Regions from separate parts of the Homo sapiens genome. Here all the other regions are linked to region 7. The links are contacts of gene promoters, found by promoter capture Hi-C in blood cells and fetal thymus (Javierre and others, 2016). All regions are on one chromosome and are shown on one strand. Each heading gives the region's core, a stretch centred on a gene start or on the middle of the fragment in contact. The rest is flanking DNA. Distances are from core to core; before and after follow the strand shown. Region 1 overlaps PRICKLE2 (prickle planar cell polarity protein 2). Region 2 has its middle 8.1 kb from the start of C3orf49. Region 3 has its middle 7.8 kb from the start of PRICKLE2. Region 4 has its middle 33 kb from the start of C3orf49. Region 5 overlaps PRICKLE2 (prickle planar cell polarity protein 2). Region 6 overlaps PRICKLE2 (prickle planar cell polarity protein 2). Region 7 holds the start of PSMD6-AS1 (PSMD6 antisense RNA 1).

Region 1 (2,700 bases), core at 105-2,604, 200 kb before region 7:
GAACACCTACCAATAGCCTAAGTGTGCTGGAATGAAACCCTATTTTCCATTTACTCTGTATTTTATTCGTTCTTACGAATGTGAATGTTCTGCAGGCTTACTGAAAGTTTTAGTTAATTACTTAATGGGTACAATGTACACTATTTACGTGATGGATATACTAAAAGCCCAGACTTCATCACTATGCAGTATATCCATGTATCAAAACTGCACTTGTACCCCCTAAATTTATACAAATTAAAAAGAAAGTTTAATTTTTGGTAAATTAAAGTTTTAATAGTCTTTTTTTCTTTCTTTCTCTGTAATATACATCCTTTTATTCTGATTAATACCTTAGGGCTCCTGTCCCTTTTCAGTACCAGTGATGTAGGGTCTTTCTCCAGGTCTCCTGCTGTGATGCTGTCAGAGGAATACCTCCTTTACAAGGGGCTGTTTTCTGTAGGCATCCTCCTGGCAGTCCAGCCATTGGTTAGGTAGTCAGGGGATATGAAGTGCGTGCTCCTGGCACAGCAACTGCATAGCCCTCAGCTACAGCTCTCCCCTTCCCCTGACAGCTTATCCAGCAAGAGTCAGAACTTCATTTAAATCGCTGCCTGAGTCTATTACTTGCTTTTGAGTTCATCATCTCAGAAGTTGCCAGGAAAGCCTGTCAAGACTAGAAGCTTGCCACGGACTGGAAAGATGACACCCCCACCCTTGCATCCTGTGGAGGTTGGGCCACTCCGAAGTGCCTGCCTCATTAGGAAGGAGGGTGAAAATGCACAGCAAAGAATTCACGTGCTCCTCTCTCAACAGGAGCTTCGATTCTTGCTAGACTGGCTTCTGAAAGGGGAATAAGTAGAAAGCAGCATAATCACAGGGCCTGACTGATCAGAAAGCTTGAACCTGCCTTCTTTTCACTGTGTCAGTTTGGCTGCCTAACCAGCTGCCTAAACACTCACGTTGTTTGCCCTTGTAATGCTTAAAAATGGTTTTAAATCCTGCACCACTGAATTGCTAAGATGCAGCATCCTAAATGGTAACTATGATATCATGTGCTATTTTGAATTTTTAAAAGAATGTTACAGAGAGTGAGAAATAGCAATTGAGCATCTGCGAGATGTAAGGCGCTGACTTTGGCCCTGTGGGTAGTTTAAAATATCACAGCCGGTCTTTTGCACTTAACCAGTTTTCCAAACCAGATGTTTTTAGCTTAGGATCCCTGGACAGCAAAGGACTGGACAGAATTGATGAACTTTCTGAAATTTAATGCAAAATTTTCTGTGAATGTGCATATGTCCATTTTTTAAGGGAGAGGATCCCAGCTTTCATCAGATTTTAAGGGCATCAAGTCACCCGAAAGGTTTAAAACTGCTAAGTTGGCTGGTAGGTTGTTGTAAACTCATCCAGAGAAATCTCTACAGGTTAATGTGAGACTGGAAAAAATAATGTTTTTCTGCCCCAGAGCAGATAGCCCAGAGAAATGCAGCATTTTTCTACATGATTACCCAGGAGCTAATGTTAAACCCTGCGGAGCTAGAAGGAGAGAGTTACCTGATTTTCTTCCATTCTGTAGATGAGTAAATTGACGGTCGTGGTCTCAGATGCCAAGGCCATAGGAGTTCTTGTTCCTTCTATCTCTCAGATAGTTTTTATTGTTCACTCAACAGTTTAACAACCTTTTGAACATTTGCTGTGTGCTAGGCCAGAGTTTTTCAGTATTTCTGTACTTGAGGCGTTCTTTCAAATACTTGACATTTTGCAGTACAGTAACAGAATTAAATTACTACACTATAGTTATGGTACATTGTCAGCTGTAATATATTTTTCTCTACCTCATCTTAAGCTTTTGCATACTTTCATTTAATTGAGGACAAAGGCAGTCTTTCTTTAATGTGATCTTGGCCAAACACTACTCGTCATGTAGTTGAATCACATTCTACATTTTTGACATCATTGTAGCAATATACATTTTCAGTTATTGTAAAAAAATAAATATGAAAAATAAAATTTACGCTTTGGTCATATCTTGTTAGTAGCTCACTGGTTGCAGTTAGATTTCAGACTAAGTATTAGTCAAAATTTCAAAGAGCTACTTATTGAATGCTTATTATTCTAGATAAAGGATTTTAAAATTTACATTACAATGGGAAAAGGTATTTTAGACACACCAACAAATAAAATGGCGTCTGATGTTAAGGAAAAGATGTCTTTGGTTGATGATGGGAATAGTGAAAAGCAGACCAGCTCCTGAAGTACTGAGGGAAGGGTGTTTTGGGCCGAGGAGCAGCTGCTGCAAAGATCCTAAGAGAGGGAAAGCCTTGGCAAATTCAAAGGACAAATAAAGACTGCTGAGGCTGGAACAAGATGGGGAATAGAGTAGAACAAAATAAATTTGGGGAGAGAGGAACAGACCAGGTTATATAGGGTCTTGTAGGCTATGGTTAAGGAGTTTGTGCTTCATTCTCACTGTTGTCAGAAGTTAATGGCACATTTTAAGCAGGAGAGCTGAGTGTTATCATCATTGTTTAAAAAACAAACGGTGGTGGAAATTAGATTCTAGAAGGGCAGGCATGGAGGCAGGAAATTAAGAAGTAGGCTATTGTAGTAGCTCAAGCAGGAGGTAATGGTGAGTTGGAGTAGGATAGTAAAGATAGAGGTGGTAAAAAGAGATAATGAATAAATGACTAAGACTCATCCCGTGCACCAAGGAAGTCCACG
Region 2 (2,700 bases), core at 44-2,543, 200 kb after region 7:
ATTTTATTTCAACTTAGTTTGTTATATTTTGACTTTTTTATGTGTTTGGGTAAAGATTTTTATCTTGAATCTGGAGACACACAGTGGAGATGCTCAGACATGTTTGGCCTATAGCAAGTTTGTCCAACGTGTGGCCCGTGGACCACAGGTGACCCAGGATGGCTTTGGATGTGGTCCAACACAAATTCATAAACTTTCTTAAAACATTATGAGATTTTTTTGTGATTAAAAAAATGTTTTTAGCTCATCAGCCATCATTTTTGTTAGTGCATTTTATGTGTGGTCCAAGACAATTTTTCTTCTTCCATTGTGGCTCAGGGAAGCCAAAAGATTGGACAACCCTGGCCTACAGGATATTTTGAATATCAGAAGATTTCACATAAAAATTTCCATTTCAGGATCCTCATAAAAAAATAAGAGTCCCTGGCAACTCAGCCCACATTCCCAGATAGGCAGAGGAGTGGCACCCCAGTTGGGTGGGAACAAGTTCTCAGTTTACCGCAGTCGCTACCACTCCCAGTGCTCTACACCAGCTGTCAGGCATTATTTTACAATCTCCATGAACAGAGTTCAACTAGTTTTTTTTTTTAATTTTAAATTAATTTTATTTTTAATATATTTTTTCTATTGGTTCTGTCTTTCTGGAGATCAATTTTTTTTTTAATCTCCTCTTGTCCTTGAGTATGAAGAGGCAGCATCTCAGTTTCCATCATTCTATGCCAGCATTTTCACATAGCATTCTCTATTTTTTCACAATTTGTCTTTGTAATACAGCTATGAGCCTATGATTATTTTTATTCTTTTTATTTTATTCTAGAGAAGGGGTCTTGCTATACCTCCCAAGTTGAACTGAGGCGCAGGTGATCTTCCCACCCCAGCCTCCCAAGTAGTCGGGACTATAGGTGTGAGCCAGTGTGCCTGGCTCTATTTTTTTTTGTTTTTTTTTTTGTTTTGTTTTTGTTTTTTGACACAGAGCCTTGCTCTGTCACCCAGGCTGGAGTGCAGTGATATGATCTCGGCTCACTGCAAGCTCCGCCTCCCGAGTTCACACCATTCTCCTTCCTCAGCCTCCGGAGTAGCTGGGATTACAGGCCTCCGCCCCCATGCTCGGCTAGTTTTTTGTATTTTTAATATAGATGGGGTTTCACTGTGTTAGCCAGGATGGTCTTGATCTCCTGACCTCGTGATCCGCTCGCCTCGGCCTCCCAAAGTGCTGGGATTACAGGTGCGAGGCACCTCGCCTGGCCGTGCCTGGCTCTATTTTTATTATTTTTAGTTATTGACTTAATTTCAGAAAGTGAAGAGTTTTTTATTTAACTATTTTAACAGGAAATGCATAATAAAATGCCAGCCCTGCTTACTTAAATAACAGTTTGGACCGAATATGGTGTCTCACACCTGCAATCTCAGCACTTTGGGAGGCTAAGGCAGGCGGATCACTTGAGGTCAGAAGTTTGAGACCAGCCTGGGCAACATGGCAAAATCTCATCTCTACTGAAAATACAAAATTACTCAGGTGTGGTGGTGTGCACATTTGTAATTCCAGCTACTCGGAAGGCTGAGGCACAAGAATTTCTTGAACCCTGTAGGTGGAGGTTGCAGTGAGCTGAGATCGCACCACTGCACTCCAGCCTGGGTGAGAGAGTGAGACTCTGTCTCAAACAAAACAAAACCAGTTTGGTGGATGGGTTGATATTCTCGGAAAATTATGATCCCCTTTTCTAGAGATTATCGTATGTTAAGGGATTGAGATTGTTTTTCAGAATATACCTTTAGTGGAAAACCAAATTATTCCCAAGTTTCTCAGCTCATGCAAATATATTGAAGAAAAACCTAAAATCAATTCACTCTTTAATGCAATGGCAACAAGACACCATCGAATACAGATATAAGCCGTCATTGACATGGCCCAACCTGTGGAATTGAATAGAGAATCCGAACCAACAAAATGACATGTAGTAGCAAGTTTTCAAGTGCATTCCGTGTCACGAAATAATAAGGTCTTGACCCATAGGTCAATAGGCTTGATATACTTCAGTTAGCAAAAAAGGATCATTTTATGTATTCATTTATTCACCTGATCATTCCACAAATCTCTATTAAGTGCCTACTATGGACAGACACTGTTCTTAGTACTGAGCATACAGCGAGGAACAGATGAAAGTTCCCAATTTCATGACACTTGTATTTTAAGTGGGAGGGGGATAGGGAGGAGGCAAAAAAATGAACAAATAATATGTGAAATTTTAAGAGATAGGAAGTGTCTGCAGGGGTGGGAAATTTTTTTATTTGGCCTGAGAAGACCTCTCTGCTATAGTGACATTATATTAGGTTGGCACAAACGTAATTGCGGTTTTTGCCATGACTTTTTTTTTTTTGAGATGGTGTCTTGCTCTGTCGCCCAGGTTGGATTGCAGTGGTGTGATCTCGGCTCACTGCAACCTCCATATCCTGGGTTCAAATGATTCTCCTGCCTCAGCCTTCCCAGTAACTGGGATTACAGGCACCACCATGCCCCGGCTAATTTTTTGTATTTTTAGTAGAGATGAGATTTCACTATGTTAGCCAGGCTCGTCTTGAACTACTGACCTCAAGTGATCCACCTGACTCAGCCTCCCAAAGTGCTGGTATTACAGGCATGAGCCACTGCACCCGGCCTGCCATTACTTTTAATGGCAAAAACCGCAATTATGTTTACTC
Region 3 (2,700 bases), core at 5-2,504, 220 kb before region 7:
ATCTAATAAGGGACATGTTCCCAGAATATACAAGGAACTTTTATAACTTACTAATTTTAACACGTGTGCCCAATTTTAAAATGAGCAAAAAATTTGAATATACGTTTCTCCAAAGAAGGTATGCAAATAGCCAACACACATATGAAAAGATGTTTAACATTATTAGCCATTAAGCAAGTGCAAATAAAAACCACTATGAGGTATTACTTCATACCCACTAGGATGACTATAATAAAAAAGACAGTAACAAGTTTTGGCAAAGATGAAGAAATGGGAAGCTTCAGATATCACTTGTGAGAATGTGAAACTGGAGGAGCACTTTGAAAAACTGCTTGATGGTTCTATGAAATGTTAAACCTAGAGTTATACGACCCAGCAATCCCACTACTAGATATGTATCCAAGGAAAATAAAAAGCATGCATCCCCACAAAAACTTATACGTGAATGTTCATAGTAGCATTATTTATAATCATAAAGACTGGAAACAACCCAAATATCCATCAATTGATGAATAGATGAATATGATGTATATTAGTACAATGGAATATTACTCTGTCATAAAAAGAATGAAATTCTGATATAAGCTACAGGATGAACCAAAAATACACTAGGTGAAGAGCCAGGCACAAAGGGCCACATATTATATGTTTTCACTAATATAAAATGTCAAGAATAGGCAACTCTATAGAGACAGAAAGTAGATTAGTGTTTGCCTAGGCCTGGAGCAGTGGGACAAGTGGGGAGTGACTACTGCTTACTAGAGGGTTTCTTTTTGGATTGAAGAAAGTTTTAAAGTTAGATTGTGGTGATGGTTGTACAACCCTATGAATATACTTAAATGGGTGAGCTGTATAGTATATTAATTATATTTCAATATAACTCTTCTTAAAAGGATCTAAGGAGAAAAATAAAGTAGGGAATTGTTTGGCCATGTTAGTAAGATGCGGGAAGGATGACAATCTCAGATAGGATGGTAAGACTTAGCCCTCACCAAGGTGACATTAGACTTGAAATAGTGACAGAGCAAGCCACATGACTTTCTGCAGGAGGAATATTTCAGACAAGTGCAAAGACCAGGAGGCACACATGTGCCTGGCATGTTTGAGGGCCAGTGTTCATGTGACAGGAAGGGAGACAGTAGCAGGAGATAGTGTCGGAGAAGCAATAGGACCTAGATCTCCAGGGACTTATTCTGAGATGAGCAGCATCACCAGTGTAGTCTTGAGCAGAAGCATGGCATGCTGCAATGTTTGTTTTCAGAGAATCAAGATGACTGCAGTTTTGTGAATAGACTGAAGGGGAGCAATAATAGACCAGGTAGGAGGCAAGAGTTGATGGTGACTTGGAACTTCATCCAGGAGAGAAATGGCAGTGGCATGGACCAGTGTGATGATGGTGGAGGAAAGATATTAGATCCTGTGTATATTTTGACAGTAGAGCTAACGGGATTTGCCAAGGGCTGGAAAATGTTCAGTGTCAAGGACCAGAGTGTAAATGTATTAGGCTTTGCAGGCTGTACGTTCTCTGTTACAATGACTCAACCCTGCCATTGTATCATGAATGCAGCCATAGATAGCACATAATGAATGGTCATGATTGTGTTCCAATAAAAGTATTTGCAAAAACGTGAAGCAAACCAGATTTGGCCTGTGGGATATAGTTTGTCAACCTCCTCTGGATTAGATGTCAGGGGTGAAGGATGGCTCAAAGGTATTTGTTCTCATCCGTTGGGAGTGTGGAGTTGCCATTAACTGAGATAGCAAAGACTACAGATGGAGCAGATTGTGGGGGATATGGTGTGGACTCAACTGGGAATTAAGAGATGGAGATGTGACATAGGCAGTTGGTCTTGAGATCATGGAAAAGGTCTCGCCTTGAGTCATCAGCCTAAAGGTGTGTTTAAGACCCTACCCTAGACCAGAGAAGCAAATGTAGATATACAGGAGTCCCAGGACTTAGCCGCAGGTTCTCCAGCATTAAGCTCTGAAGGAGATGAGCATGAGCCAGCAAAAGAGCCTGAGAAGGAGCAGCCAGAGGGTAGGAGGGAAAGCAGGAGAATGTGGCATCCTGGAAGCAAAGCTAAGAAGTGTTTCAGTGAGCTGAACTCCATCCTTTCCTTTCCCACTCACAAGAGTATGTTGGAATGCAAATGAACAGAGAGGTATTCTTACAGGAATAATCCTGAAATTCCTCTAATTTCTAGATTAGAAGAAGCATTGTCAAGCTTTTTATTAATTCCAAAAATGTTCATTAGCTGTCAGGCCACAAAGCAGTAGATCCTTTGAATAGAATGGTGAGCCACAAAAGGCATGGTCTCTGCTCTTAGGCCACATAGAGTCTGGTTAGTAAGAGAGAGAGGTTAATCACATAATCGTTAACATTGACCAAGGATGGATCATCATAACTAACCAAGGATGTAGAACTGTGAACCAGAATGAGAGTCCTAAGGGAAAGGACACACATCTAAGAGTGCAACACTCTATGTACTCTTCCCTTGTACAAAGGAATTGATCTAATCTGATGGCACAGGGAACCTTCTGTGTTTTTCTGTTTTTAATAACACATTATTTCCCACACTTCACACCCTAATGGGAACACACCTGGTTTTTGTTTTTGTTTTCGTTTTTGTTTTTAGAGGAAATTTGTGATCCTCTGAAGTAAAGGAAAGAATATGGGTTTTGTCGTCAGACCCAAGACCA
Region 4 (2,700 bases), core at 82-2,581, 230 kb after region 7:
CCAGACCCAGTGTCTGTGAGTGCTCTCAGGTAATTTAACCACAACTGCCTTTCTTCCTTTCCCCATGAAATAAGCATTATTATTCCCGTGTTTGACGTAAAAGTAAATATGTAATGGATTTGCCTGTGTTCCTGAATGCTAATATTCTACATTGTTCTACAGAAAGAGCAGAAATCAAGTCCATCTCATTTACATATATGGAAATGGATGGTATGAATTAAAACGAATCAGAACATGATGATTCATCAGAAAGTCGATAAATTAAAAGGTCACTCATTTCTCCAAAAGATTTTGAGGTTGCTTTGCAGTTCTTCTGGGCTTAATCTTCTCTATTAAATGATCTCTGTGTCTACACAATTGTTAAGTAAATAGCACTCAGGGTAATGAACTCTTGATATTAATTCTCTTATGGATTTTTGCCCTGGATTTTTCTGGTCATTTGATTCTCACCTAGATGAGAGACCCTGACTTCCACTGCTGTCTTTCTCGAGAAGTTTATCTTAGGGATAAAATGTGGAGAACAGAGAGACATGATGTAAAGTGACTAAACACTCAGCTCTCAAACTGGGGACAAGCCACTTGAAATTTCTAAGCCTGTGTTTCTATCTGTGAGATAGGGATAATATCAGTACCTATGACATAGAGTTATTGTGAGAATTAAAAGACAACGTGTTTGAAGCACTTAACAGAGCAACTGGAAGGCAGTATAAATGAAAATCAAAGACAGGTTAAGAAAACAACTTGATAAAATATTGCCTGTGCCTACACATACAAATTCAGATGAACAGACGTCGGAGTATTTCATATTTTTTTTCCTTCTTTAGCTCCACGACCTCCCTCCACATAAAAGCCCATTCTTTCCATCAACAAGCAAACAAACAAAATTATCCCTGAGTTCTCATTAAACAGTCAGCATGTTTCTCTAAATGTAAACTCCTTTTTATTTAATTTTAGCATTGGGGGAAGTGTTGTGAGAAATGTTCAGATAACATACTGAACATAAGAGAACAGGAAAATTCATTTTTCTATTCTTGAAAAAGAATAGAAATTTTTCAAGAATAGAAACTTGAAAGAATTGAAACTTGAAATTGGTTGAATGGAATATAACTTCATCATCATCATCATCAGTTACGAACATTTACTGAGCGTCTATCATGTATAGGGGAGGGGGGTCAGGGGAGTGGGAATGGGCTCAGAGCACAAAGAGATTTCACGCCTGGTTTTTAGAGATGCGTGGAATCAGGCCAGGGAAGTAGTTGATGTATCTGCAATATTTTGCTTTCTCTTTACTGTCCAATAAACAGTACTTCATTTCCCCGGAGGGCTCTGGCTTTATAATTGACAGCATCGGAACAATTTCCACAGCAGCAGTTTTTGATTTTGAAAGTGAATCTAGAAGGTAAATACTACTACTGGGTTTTCATTTGGAATGCCAGTTCTTTGGTTCGTATTTCCCTTTTCATGAATATTTTCCCTCATCTGGCCTTGATGTGCTCCCCAAATTAAGATGCTTTTGGTGGTTTTCTTTTTTTTAATGAAATCATTACTTAACAGATAGTTGCATGGTGGCTGGTTGATGCTAGACTTGGCTGTTGGGGCTCCTCTCTGCATCATCCTGTTTTCAGAGTGAAGCCACGATTATTTTGGGGGTGGCATTTGCATCCTGCTGTGGAAGTAGGTGAATACTCCTCTCTGGATACCTGTGACACCAAATTCATTCACCGTGTAATACAGTATCTTTAAAAAGTTAATGCACACACATGCCATCTCCTAAGTGGGTAGCCACTGGTTCAAGTTATTATTTTTATTTTTGTAGTGATTTTTATGAACACCCTTTTCAGTCATATGTTCTGCATCAATGTGCTTCATAGGAAAAGGAAATGGACCTTTAAACCTTTCCAATCAAATTGCTCCTGAATCTGATAAGATATTCTTTTCTATTATGAAAGCTGAGGATGGGATATATCCTAAGTGTTAGCATCTTTAGAAGAGAAGTCCAGTGGAGGCCAGGCACGGTGGCTCACGCCTATAATCCCAGCACTTTGAGAGGCCGTGGCAGGTGGATCATGAGGTCGGGAGATCAAGACCATCCTGGCTAACACAGTGAAACCCTGTCTCTACTAAAAATACAAAAAAAATGGCCGGGCATGGTGGCGGGCGCATGTAGTCCCAGCTACTCGGGAGGCTGAGGCAGGAGAATGCGTGAACCCAGGAGGCAGAGCTTGCAGTGAGCCGAGATCACGCCACTGCACTCCAGCCTGGGTGACAGAGCAAGACACTGTCTCAAAAAAAAAAAAAAAAAAAAAAAAAGAAGAAGAAGAGAAGTCCAGTGGAGACTAGGGGCCCACACATCATATGAGATTACCTCTCAGTGAAACAGATTAGGAGTTCAAAACTAGACGAGATCTGCAGCATTAAAGAATTCAAGCTACCTGGGGTCTAGCTGAATGCTGGAGGGTTGATGACAGCAAGGAAGGAAGAAAGCAATTAGCCTTTCTAACACTTTCACTTTTTTTTTGAGATGGAGTCTCACTCTGTCGCCCAGGCTGGAGTGCAGTGGTGCGTATTTGGCTCAATCCAACTTCTACTTCCTGGATTCAAGTGATTCACCTGCCTCAGCCTCCTGAGTAGCTGGGAGATTACAGGTATGTGTCACACGCCCGGTTAATTTTTGTATTTTTAGTAGAGATGGGGTTTCAC
Region 5 (2,700 bases), core at 9-2,508, 160 kb before region 7:
TGTTCATCAGTTCTTATTATTCCTGGGAGTTTAGAAAGGAGACAGGAGGGAGAAAAGAAAAGCGTGGTTTAGAGAAAGGGCAAAATTCTGGAGATTCGGAAAAGGCTGGGAGACAGAAGAGCTGTGACTATTCTGAAGTATGTGTCAGCTGAGATAGACAACTTGGCTTAATGTGTGATTTGCTGGGACCGTTGAAGACAGAGTTGGGCAACAGATCAGTTGTCATCGTACTCTTCAAAGTGCTCTTTAGCTGTTTAATCTCATTTACAGCTCTTCTACTGCTCTTTTTACTTTTTAAAAGAGAATTTGCCAAGGATACTGGCCATTTAAGCTTCTGACAGAATGCTAGAGCCGGCCTCATACTGCCTTGCAAGAGCCAATTGGTCAGTTTTCAGGAATTTTGTAAATCCATTGTTAAATACAGCCATTATGAAAATTTAATTATATAAACTTATAATTAAATAAATTATATTTTTTAAAGATGATAAATACTTGAAATTCATCACTTCCTATTTAATTTATCCTATTCCACTGTTATCTATGTTCTTGAGACTGTTTTGCCTATTATATCTGTATAGTGGGAGTACTGTGTGATGGTATGCTATGTATAGCTCTTCCCAGTTCCACATCCGATGACATCACATTGGTAGCTTGAATGTGGGATTCATAGTGGGATCACATACCCTATGGAAATTGGCAAATGCTACAAATCAGTACCTAACTTATTTTTTATTGAATCTTTGTAGTGTTTTTGTCTACCTATTATGGCTTTTGCATTATTTTAACTTTGTATTGTAGTCATTTGTCTACTTGTCTTATACCCTCTGCCAAATATAACCTCTTTCCACCTAGGGGTGGTTTCCCATTCATGTGTGTGTTCTTTCCCCACAAGCACTCAACAGTTCCTTACACTTGCGTATCACAGATAACAGAATAGCACAGACTGGGTGGCTTAAACAACAGAAATTTATTTTCTCACAGTTCTGGAGTCCAAAAGCTCAAGATCAAGATGTCAGCAGGGTTGATTTCTGGTGAGGCTTTTCTTCCTGGCTTGCAGATGGCCTTTTCTCTGTGCATGCTCCTGGTTATCTCTTCCTCTTCTTACAAGGACACCAGTCTTATTGAATAGGGCCCCAGCCTTATGACCTCATTTAATCTTAATTACCTCCTTAAAGGCCCTATCTATAAATATAGTCACACATAGGGGTTAGGGATTTGATATGTGAATCACAGGGGGTACACAATTCTGTTTATAACATAGACATTTATGAATTATGCATTAGACTGCTTCAAAGCCAAGAAATATAGAGCCTTCAGCCTGTGCCTCTCTCTTTGTTAGTTACACGATATCATTTGAGCCTCTTATTAATGCTTCAAGGTAGATATTATTGTCCCCAATTTACAGATGGAGATATTAACTTTCTACAAGAGATCAAATAACTTGCCCAACTACATGCAGATGGTAAGTGTTACATCCATTATTGGAACCCAAACAATCTGACTGCAGAGTCCAAACAAGTTACCCCTATAAGAAACTGCCATCCTTCTTTTTTCATACTTATGTATGTGTGTATTTTATCTAAAGGCAGTATTGAAACTGTTGTCAAATGAAGTTAGCAACTGTTGGGGAATTTTTAATAGGGCATATACGCAAATGCGTAGACAATCTGCAAAGGGTGTTTTGATAAAATTGGGATGAGGGAGTCTATTTAAGTGTAGCTTAAGTAGAAAATGTTCAAACCCCAAGTTCTTCCATTTCTGCAACCTTTTCTTTAACACAAGATAAAATAAATGTCAGATAATGCTCCAAACTAAATGGAATGTATTTTCTAACAAAACATTGAAGTTTAATATTCTAAATAAAATAATAAACAGGGTTGGAAAGAGTGGTCATGTGAGAACTAACAGGCATAGGAGCAAAGCAACTCATGTGATTCTGAATTATGGTACCGGCTTAGGGCATAACATAATTATTTTCCTTAGTTTGTTCAAACGAAGTTAACTCAACTTGAAAGAAATTCTCTGGCTTCAAATACAAATGGGTGTCGCTTTTGTCACTTCCTCTGAAATAAACAGTATATTGACAGTTATTCCATGCATCCTTTACTTAGCATCTCCACCCACCCCACAGCACTAATCTTTGGTGAAAAAAGCAAATGCTTTGATGGAATGAAAGAGAAGCTTAATGAGTTTTACTCTGTTTCCTCTTGAAATCTCGCTTGTTTATTCTCTTGCTGTATGTGTCTGTCTAGATCCTCTAATAACCCAGACAGCTAGAAAGGTAAGATTTGAATACAGCATGCATCCATTCAACAAACACTTATTGAGTATCTTGTACATGCCAGACCCTCTTCTGGGGGTATACAGCAAACACAGTCCTAAGTACTCACATTCTAGAGGGAAGAGAAAGTCAACAAACAAATAGATCATTTGTCAACAACTGATAAGTTCTTTGACAAAAAGCAGATGAAGAGTTTATCAGTTTCAGCACTGTTGGCATTTTGATGGGGATCTTTTGCTGTTGGGGCTGACCCATGTATTGTAGGAAGTTTGGCAGCGTCCCTGGCCTCTACCCACTATATGTGCCAAAGCAGCTCCCTCCCCAAGTTGCAATAACAAAAAATGTTTGTAGACATTGTCAAATATCTCTTGGGGGGTATTATTGCCCCCATTTGAGAAGTACTGGGTTGGAAGATAAGG
Region 6 (2,700 bases), core at 25-2,524, 190 kb before region 7:
TTGCATTTATATGAAATGTCCAAAATAGGCAAAACCATAGAGACAGAAAATAGATTAGTGGTTGTTAGAGCCTGGGGGCAGAGGGATATGGGAAATAACTGCCAATGCTCCTGGGGTTTCTTTTGGGGAGGGGATGAAAATTAGATAGTGATGATTCACAATTCCGAATGTATTAAGAGTCCATGAATTGTACACTTTGAAATGGTGAGTTTTATGGTTTGTACATTGTATCTTCACAAAGCTGTTATCAGAACGTTCAGGCACATCTGGGGATTAAAATTCTGGGCTCTTTTATCACCTTTATAAGGTGCTACGGAAACTAATAATTTTAAAAAGAGTGAACATGGAATAACTTATTTCCTTAAAATTTTCCTCCTCTATTCTTTTTTTCTCTCTTTTTATTTTATTGGTGGAAGCTAGAAATGCTTTTGTGTTGCTGACATCAACATATTTATTGCTTCATCATTTCTGTAGCTATGGATAAGAGAACAGATGGTAACCTTAAAAGAGAAATGTTCAGTTTGGGAGATTTTTATCTTTGGCTGCTACCTTTTGAAATAATTCACATGCATGATCTTCTTGTATATAAAAAACCCCACCAACATAGGGAAAATTTGGGTTTCTAATTAGAATTCCAAACCTACAGGGATCTTTAATGGAGGTGAAATTGTCTTTCCTATGAGATCTTAGGGCCAGATACGTTTCATGAGAAAAAATATGTATGTTTGCTCTTCTTCTTAAAGAACATTTTACCTGCATTTTTAAAACCATTTTCTCCATTTTCCAGGGCTTAGGAACCTTTTATAAAAGCAGTATGTTGTCAGTATTTGTTAAATCTACAAGTAACACTTCAGGTCAACATATGTATTATGTATATTTAATTGCTATTGCAGTCAAGGAAATTGTGGTCATGGGCCATATCCAGTGGTCTACCTAGTAAAATAAAAACTATATTACCATTCCTCTTGGGGTATTGATTTAGAAGAGAAGGCTGGGGTCCACATGTAAACACCCTTAGCATGCTTACCTGGTGGCCTCTGACCTTTCATGCTGTTTTCACATGCGTGTACCACGCCCTCTGCAAAGACAGTCATGTTCTGGAACACTGCTCGCGATGCCTTTGCCCGATGCCCATTGCCAAGGAATGTGTTTATGGTTTGGGATCCAGGGGCTAGTGACTGGCAGGCTCTTGGAAAAAAAAAAAGGTTTTTTCCTCTTTCTCACCTTCTACCTTTACTGCCTGCAGGAAGATCTGCCTGCACTGCAAGTGTCCCCAGGAGGAGCACATGGTGACAGTGATGCCGCTGGAGATGGAGAAGACCATCAGCAAACTCATGTTTGACTTTCAGAGGAACTCGACCTCAGATGATGACTCAGGCTGTGCTTTGGAAGAGTATGCCTGGGTCCCGCCGGGTCTGAAGCCTGAACAGGTACCATTCTGGATGGGAGCATGCTGGTGGTTTGGGTGTTTCACTTTGCCTTACTGGTCCTTCCTCATTCCAGTTCTGTAGGAAGAGTAGACTTTGCTGATTCAGAGAAGTGGTAGGGCTAAATATGTTGAAGATGCCAGGGGCCCCAGTGGAAAATGAGGAAGGGAAATGAAATTGAGCCAGGAGTGATCCATTGCTAATTCATTCTGTATTGTCATTATTAACTGTTACCAGGATTGTCTAGAAACATCTCAGAGGTGTACCACATTTTTCTCAGTGAAATACAGCCTCTTGTATTTCTTGGTACTTCAAATTTTCTCCTCTACCAGCCCCATGTTGTTTAAGAAGCTCTTTTATAAGCTGGGTATTTTCATGATGTTTCCTGTGAGAATCTGAAGTGCCAGAATCTGAAGTGTTTGACCACTGTTGACTTCCTCTGACACATAAAATTTCTTTCTCAGGACATCTTCTCTATGTCCAACAAAAACGTTTTAAAGTTTAAACAGCCCTTGAAATTTTTTTTGTTTTATTTATTTATTTATTTATTTATTTATTTATTTATTTATTTATTTTAGATAGAGTCTCGCTCTGTCGCCCAGGCTGGAGTGCAGTGGCGCGATCTTGGCTCACTGCAAGCTCTGCCTCCCGGGTTCACGCCATTCTCCTGCCTTAGCCTCCCGAGTAGCTGGGACTACAGGCACCCGCCACCACCCCTGGCTAATTTTCTTGTATTTTTAGTAGAGATGGGGTTTCACCATGATAGCCAGGATGGTCTCGATCTCCTGACCTCGTGATCCGTCCGTGTTGGCCTCCCAAAGTGCTGGGATTACAGGCGTGAGCCACCACACCCGGCCATCAGCCCTTGAAATTTTAACTTGGAAACTTTAGGTGTGATAATGCTTTTAGGGAAAATTCTTTTTTTTTTTAACTTTATTTTCAGTTCATGGGTACATGTGCAAGTTTGTCACACAGGTAGACTGGTGTCATGGGAGTTTGTTGTACAGATTATTTCATCACCCAGATATTAAGCCTAGTACCCATTAGTTATTTTTCCTGACCCTCTCCCTCCTCCCAGCCTTCACTCTGTGGTAGGGCCCAGTGTGTGTTGTTCCCCACTATGTGTCCATGTGTTCTCATCATTTAGCTCCCACTGCATGAGAACATGCAGTATTTGGTTTTGTTTCTCCATTAGTTTGCTAAGGGTAATGGCCTCCAACTCTGTGCATGTTCCTCCAAAGGATATGATCTTGTACTTTTTTATGGCTGCATA
Region 7 (2,700 bases), core at 192-2,691:
TAAAGTTGCCTTTTAAAATATGTGAACTTGTACAATTTTTTACTTGTTTACATTGGTTCCCTCAATCTTAACGGGGAGGGGAGAGGTTTTTTTCCTCAGTATTATCAAAACATTCGTATCCTGTTGCCTCTGCCTTCCTCATGTCATGTCTGCCCCTTGCATTAACAGATGGGAAGATGAGTTGTAGTGAGGCTAAGTGATTTGTTAAAGGTCATTAGACCAGTTGTTATCAAAAGTTGTCTTCTGTTACTTCTTTGTAGACCACACTGCAGCTACGGTAATGACTCTTAGATCTGATATTTACAGTTGGTCATATTCCCTCTGATAATTCCTTCCAGTTTTTAGGTTGCTGCTGCAATTCTGGTCAGATTGGTTGTTAAATGTGGGACTTTTAGTACTTGCATCAGTGATTAAACAAATAAATACTTAATGAGCCATTCATTACTATATGTTTGGTATTGTTTTACAGCTCCCTTTTCACACTTTCATTGTAGTAGTAGGGAAGAGATGGCAAGGAAGCAAATAAATATAAAACGTAATTTCACATATAGAAATGAACCTATGGAGATGAGAAAATGCTATCCTTACGTACGGCATGCTTAAGGAGGTGAGGTTTGCTCTGAGATTTGAATTGAGAGGAGTCAGCCATATGGAGTCCTTCTGCGTGCAGAAAAGGGAATAGAAAAGGCTAAGGCTTTGAGCCAGGAATAAGCTTGGATGTTGTAGGAACAGAAAATGTCAGGGTGGCTCCAGCATAGTTGGAGTGGTAGGAGATTTTGAGGATAATATATGGAGAGTTAGGTAGGTAATGATTTGTGTAGGGCCTTGTAGGTCATGGGATGGAGCTTGAGTTTTAAGTAAGTTTGATAGGGAGCCATTGGAAGATTTAGAGCCCAAGTTACATGGTCCTATGCAGTGTCTTTATATAAGAAATAGAGTAAGGTGGCAGAGAGGACCAGTTGTGCTGTTTAGTAGCTCTTAGAGGAGATGTTACCGTGGCGTGGACGAGGGTGGTGAGAGTAGAGTTGGGTAGGAGACATACTCAATATGGGATGTCCAGATGGCATCTAGATCAGTGGCTCCCACATGTAGGTGTTTTTAAATGTTGATGATGGTGTTTTCAATGGTCTGCAGTGGAAACTTTAAATGAAGATGCATTTCTTTTAAATAAGACCATTCTCTTTCTAGTATTTTTTAAATTTCGAACATCCATAAAATTGTAAAGAAAGAATTGTACAGTACATTTTAACATATTTGCTTGTTACAATCTATACATTTTATGTTTTTTAACCACTTCAAAGTAAGTTTCAGACACCAACACATTTTTTAAATGATCCCTACCATTTTTTAAATGATCCCTACCAAAATGGAAGGCTGGTATCCCAAGGTTTTGTTCCATTTCTCAATTCTAGTCTGTGAAATTGAAGTCTGATGACCACTCTTAAGAGGGCTGTTCATTAGGGTGCGGGCTGGGCATTATGAGTGTGTTTTTCATGAGTCAGTGGAAGGAGGGGCTTGTTGTGAGCAGTGCATGAGAAAAACGGCTTGGCTTTGCTTCTTTTTCCAGCTCTGTGGCCTTGGTCAGGTTACGTCTCTTCAGTATCGTAACTGTAATGTGGAGATAAAGCCTTCATTAGTTAGGGGCACACACCGCAGTATTCCTTAAGTCATCTTGATGACAAGTGAATGCAAGGCAGCTGGTACCTTTCAGGTAGTAGTTGAATTCAGGTAGTATTTGTTCAGTTTTTTTTTTTTCCCTTCATGTTCTAAGACCAGCTTGAGAGGCAAAGGTTGTACCACTGAGCTCTAGTTGTTGTTACCTAAAAAGGCCTTGTTTTAAATTTCTGTGATACCTAAGAATTTCAAATCTGGGTTGTCATGGATTCTTTATTCTTTTTTTCTCCCTTAAAAAGTTACATTTTAGATGAAATCCCCTTTTTTAAAATGGGCAAAGCAATAATTCTACATCATTTCTCCCCTTCCCTTCCACTTGTTTAGACTAAGATATGTTAGAGAGGGAAAGGGTCGTTGTTTTAGTAAATACTATTGCTGTTGACATGTTAATACTATTGCTGTTGACATGTTTACTGATGGGCTGTGTTCCATAATTTTGTTTTAGGTCTTTTGTTTGAAACAGTTTACTGTTTTTATCAGTTTTGGTCCCTAATTTTTCCTAACCTACAGTTTTTCTCTGAGTACATATGGTTTCATTGTTTGATCTACTTTCTATCTATCTGAATATGAACTTCTAGGATCATGTTTATTCTAGTAGATGATGACTTAAAGCCTGCAGTATAGGAGGGACAACGTCAACTACTGCATGTGCAATAACAAGCTTGAAGGGAAGCTAAATGTTTGTTACAAATTTAAGACAGTATTTTAATGCCGTTTGCATTTTTCTAAGAATTTTCTATAAAGCTAATTCTGTTATTTTTTGTCTCTAAATTAGGGAACTGTCCAGGTTTATTGCTGCCGGGAGACTACACTGCAAAATAGATAAAGTGAATGAAATAGTAGAAACCAACAGGTACTCTCATTTCTCAGAATAAGGGGCATTCCTAAATTTTAAAAGTAGGTCAACTATTGTCATGGAATAATGTGACTGGTAAATAATTCATTTTTTCTTGAATTTATTTATAGACCTGATAGCAAGAACTGGCAGTACCAAGAAACTATCAAGAAAGGAGATCTGCTACTAAA

What was found. The method cuts DNA at HindIII sites, captures the fragments that hold promoters and counts their contacts. A CHiCAGO score of 5 or more calls a contact.
Region 1: a contact is called between a fragment that was not itself captured here and the fragment with the promoter of PSMD6-AS1 in region 7, in 1 of 17 cell types (megakaryocytes). The highest score is 5.0, in megakaryocytes.
Region 2: a fragment that was not itself captured here is called in contact with the fragment with the promoter of PSMD6-AS1 in region 7 in 2 of 17 cell types (total CD4 T cells and total CD8 T cells); the score reaches 5.9 in total CD4 T cells.
Region 3: a contact is called between a fragment that was not itself captured here and the fragment with the promoter of PSMD6-AS1 in region 7, in 1 of 17 cell types (megakaryocytes). The highest score is 6.5, in megakaryocytes.
Region 4: a fragment that was not itself captured here is called in contact with the fragment with the promoter of PSMD6-AS1 in region 7 in 1 of 17 cell types (monocytes); the score reaches 5.8 in monocytes.
Region 5: a fragment that was not itself captured here is called in contact with the fragment with the promoter of PSMD6-AS1 in region 7 in 1 of 17 cell types (megakaryocytes); the score reaches 5.0 in megakaryocytes.
Region 6: a fragment that was not itself captured here is called in contact with the fragment with the promoter of PSMD6-AS1 in region 7 in 1 of 17 cell types (megakaryocytes); the score reaches 7.5 in megakaryocytes.

The regions. Positions count from the first base shown.
Region 1 is chr3:64,214,877-64,217,576 of GRCh38, reverse strand. The region is part of intron 1 of PRICKLE2 (prickle planar cell polarity protein 2); the gene reads left to right. Among named protein-coding and RNA genes, the nearest start is that of PRICKLE2, 9.2 kb to the left of the region's middle. The HindIII fragment of the contact is 947 bases long and covers 881-1,827 here.
Region 2 is chr3:63,809,824-63,812,523 of GRCh38, reverse strand. It overlaps the pseudogene CDHR18P and a transcript of C3orf49 not described here. Among named protein-coding and RNA genes, the nearest start is that of C3orf49, 8.1 kb to the left of the region's middle. The HindIII fragment of the contact is 5,082 bases long and covers 1-2,700 here.
Region 3 is chr3:64,231,873-64,234,572 of GRCh38, reverse strand. It overlaps a transcript of PRICKLE2 not described here. Among named protein-coding and RNA genes, the nearest start is that of PRICKLE2, 7.8 kb to the right of the region's middle. The HindIII fragment of the contact is 1,947 bases long and covers 281-2,227 here.
Region 4 is chr3:63,784,676-63,787,375 of GRCh38, reverse strand. It overlaps the pseudogene CDHR18P and a transcript of C3orf49 not described here. Among named protein-coding and RNA genes, the nearest start is that of C3orf49, 33 kb to the left of the region's middle. The HindIII fragment of the contact is 3,853 bases long and covers 1-2,700 here.
Region 5 is chr3:64,171,238-64,173,937 of GRCh38, reverse strand. All of the region lies in intron 2 of PRICKLE2 (prickle planar cell polarity protein 2), which reads left to right. Among named protein-coding and RNA genes, the nearest start is that of PRICKLE2-AS3, 15 kb to the left of the region's middle. The HindIII fragment of the contact is 1,850 bases long and covers 334-2,183 here.
Region 6 is chr3:64,197,514-64,200,213 of GRCh38, reverse strand. It overlaps PRICKLE2 (prickle planar cell polarity protein 2), which reads left to right. Exons shown (of 8, transcript NM_198859.4): 2 at 1,247-1,430. The coding sequence starts at 1,287. PRICKLE2-AS3 (PRICKLE2 antisense RNA 3) reads right to left here. Exons shown (of 4, transcript NR_046702.1): 4 at 1-1,505. Among named protein-coding and RNA genes, the nearest start is that of PRICKLE2-AS3, 11 kb to the right of the region's middle. The HindIII fragment of the contact is 5,343 bases long and covers 1-2,700 here.
Region 7 is chr3:64,010,705-64,013,404 of GRCh38, reverse strand. It overlaps PSMD6-AS1 (PSMD6 antisense RNA 1), which reads right to left and starts at 1,441. Exons shown (of 2, transcript NR_189168.1): 1 at 1,363-1,441. PSMD6 (proteasome 26S subunit, non-ATPase 6) reads left to right here. Exons shown (of 8, transcript NM_014814.3): 7 at 2,450-2,527; 8 at 2,641-2,700. PSMD6-AS2 (PSMD6 antisense RNA 2) reads right to left here. Exons shown (of 3, transcript NR_038286.1): 3 at 1,162-1,608. The HindIII fragment of the contact is 1,623 bases long and covers 715-2,337 here.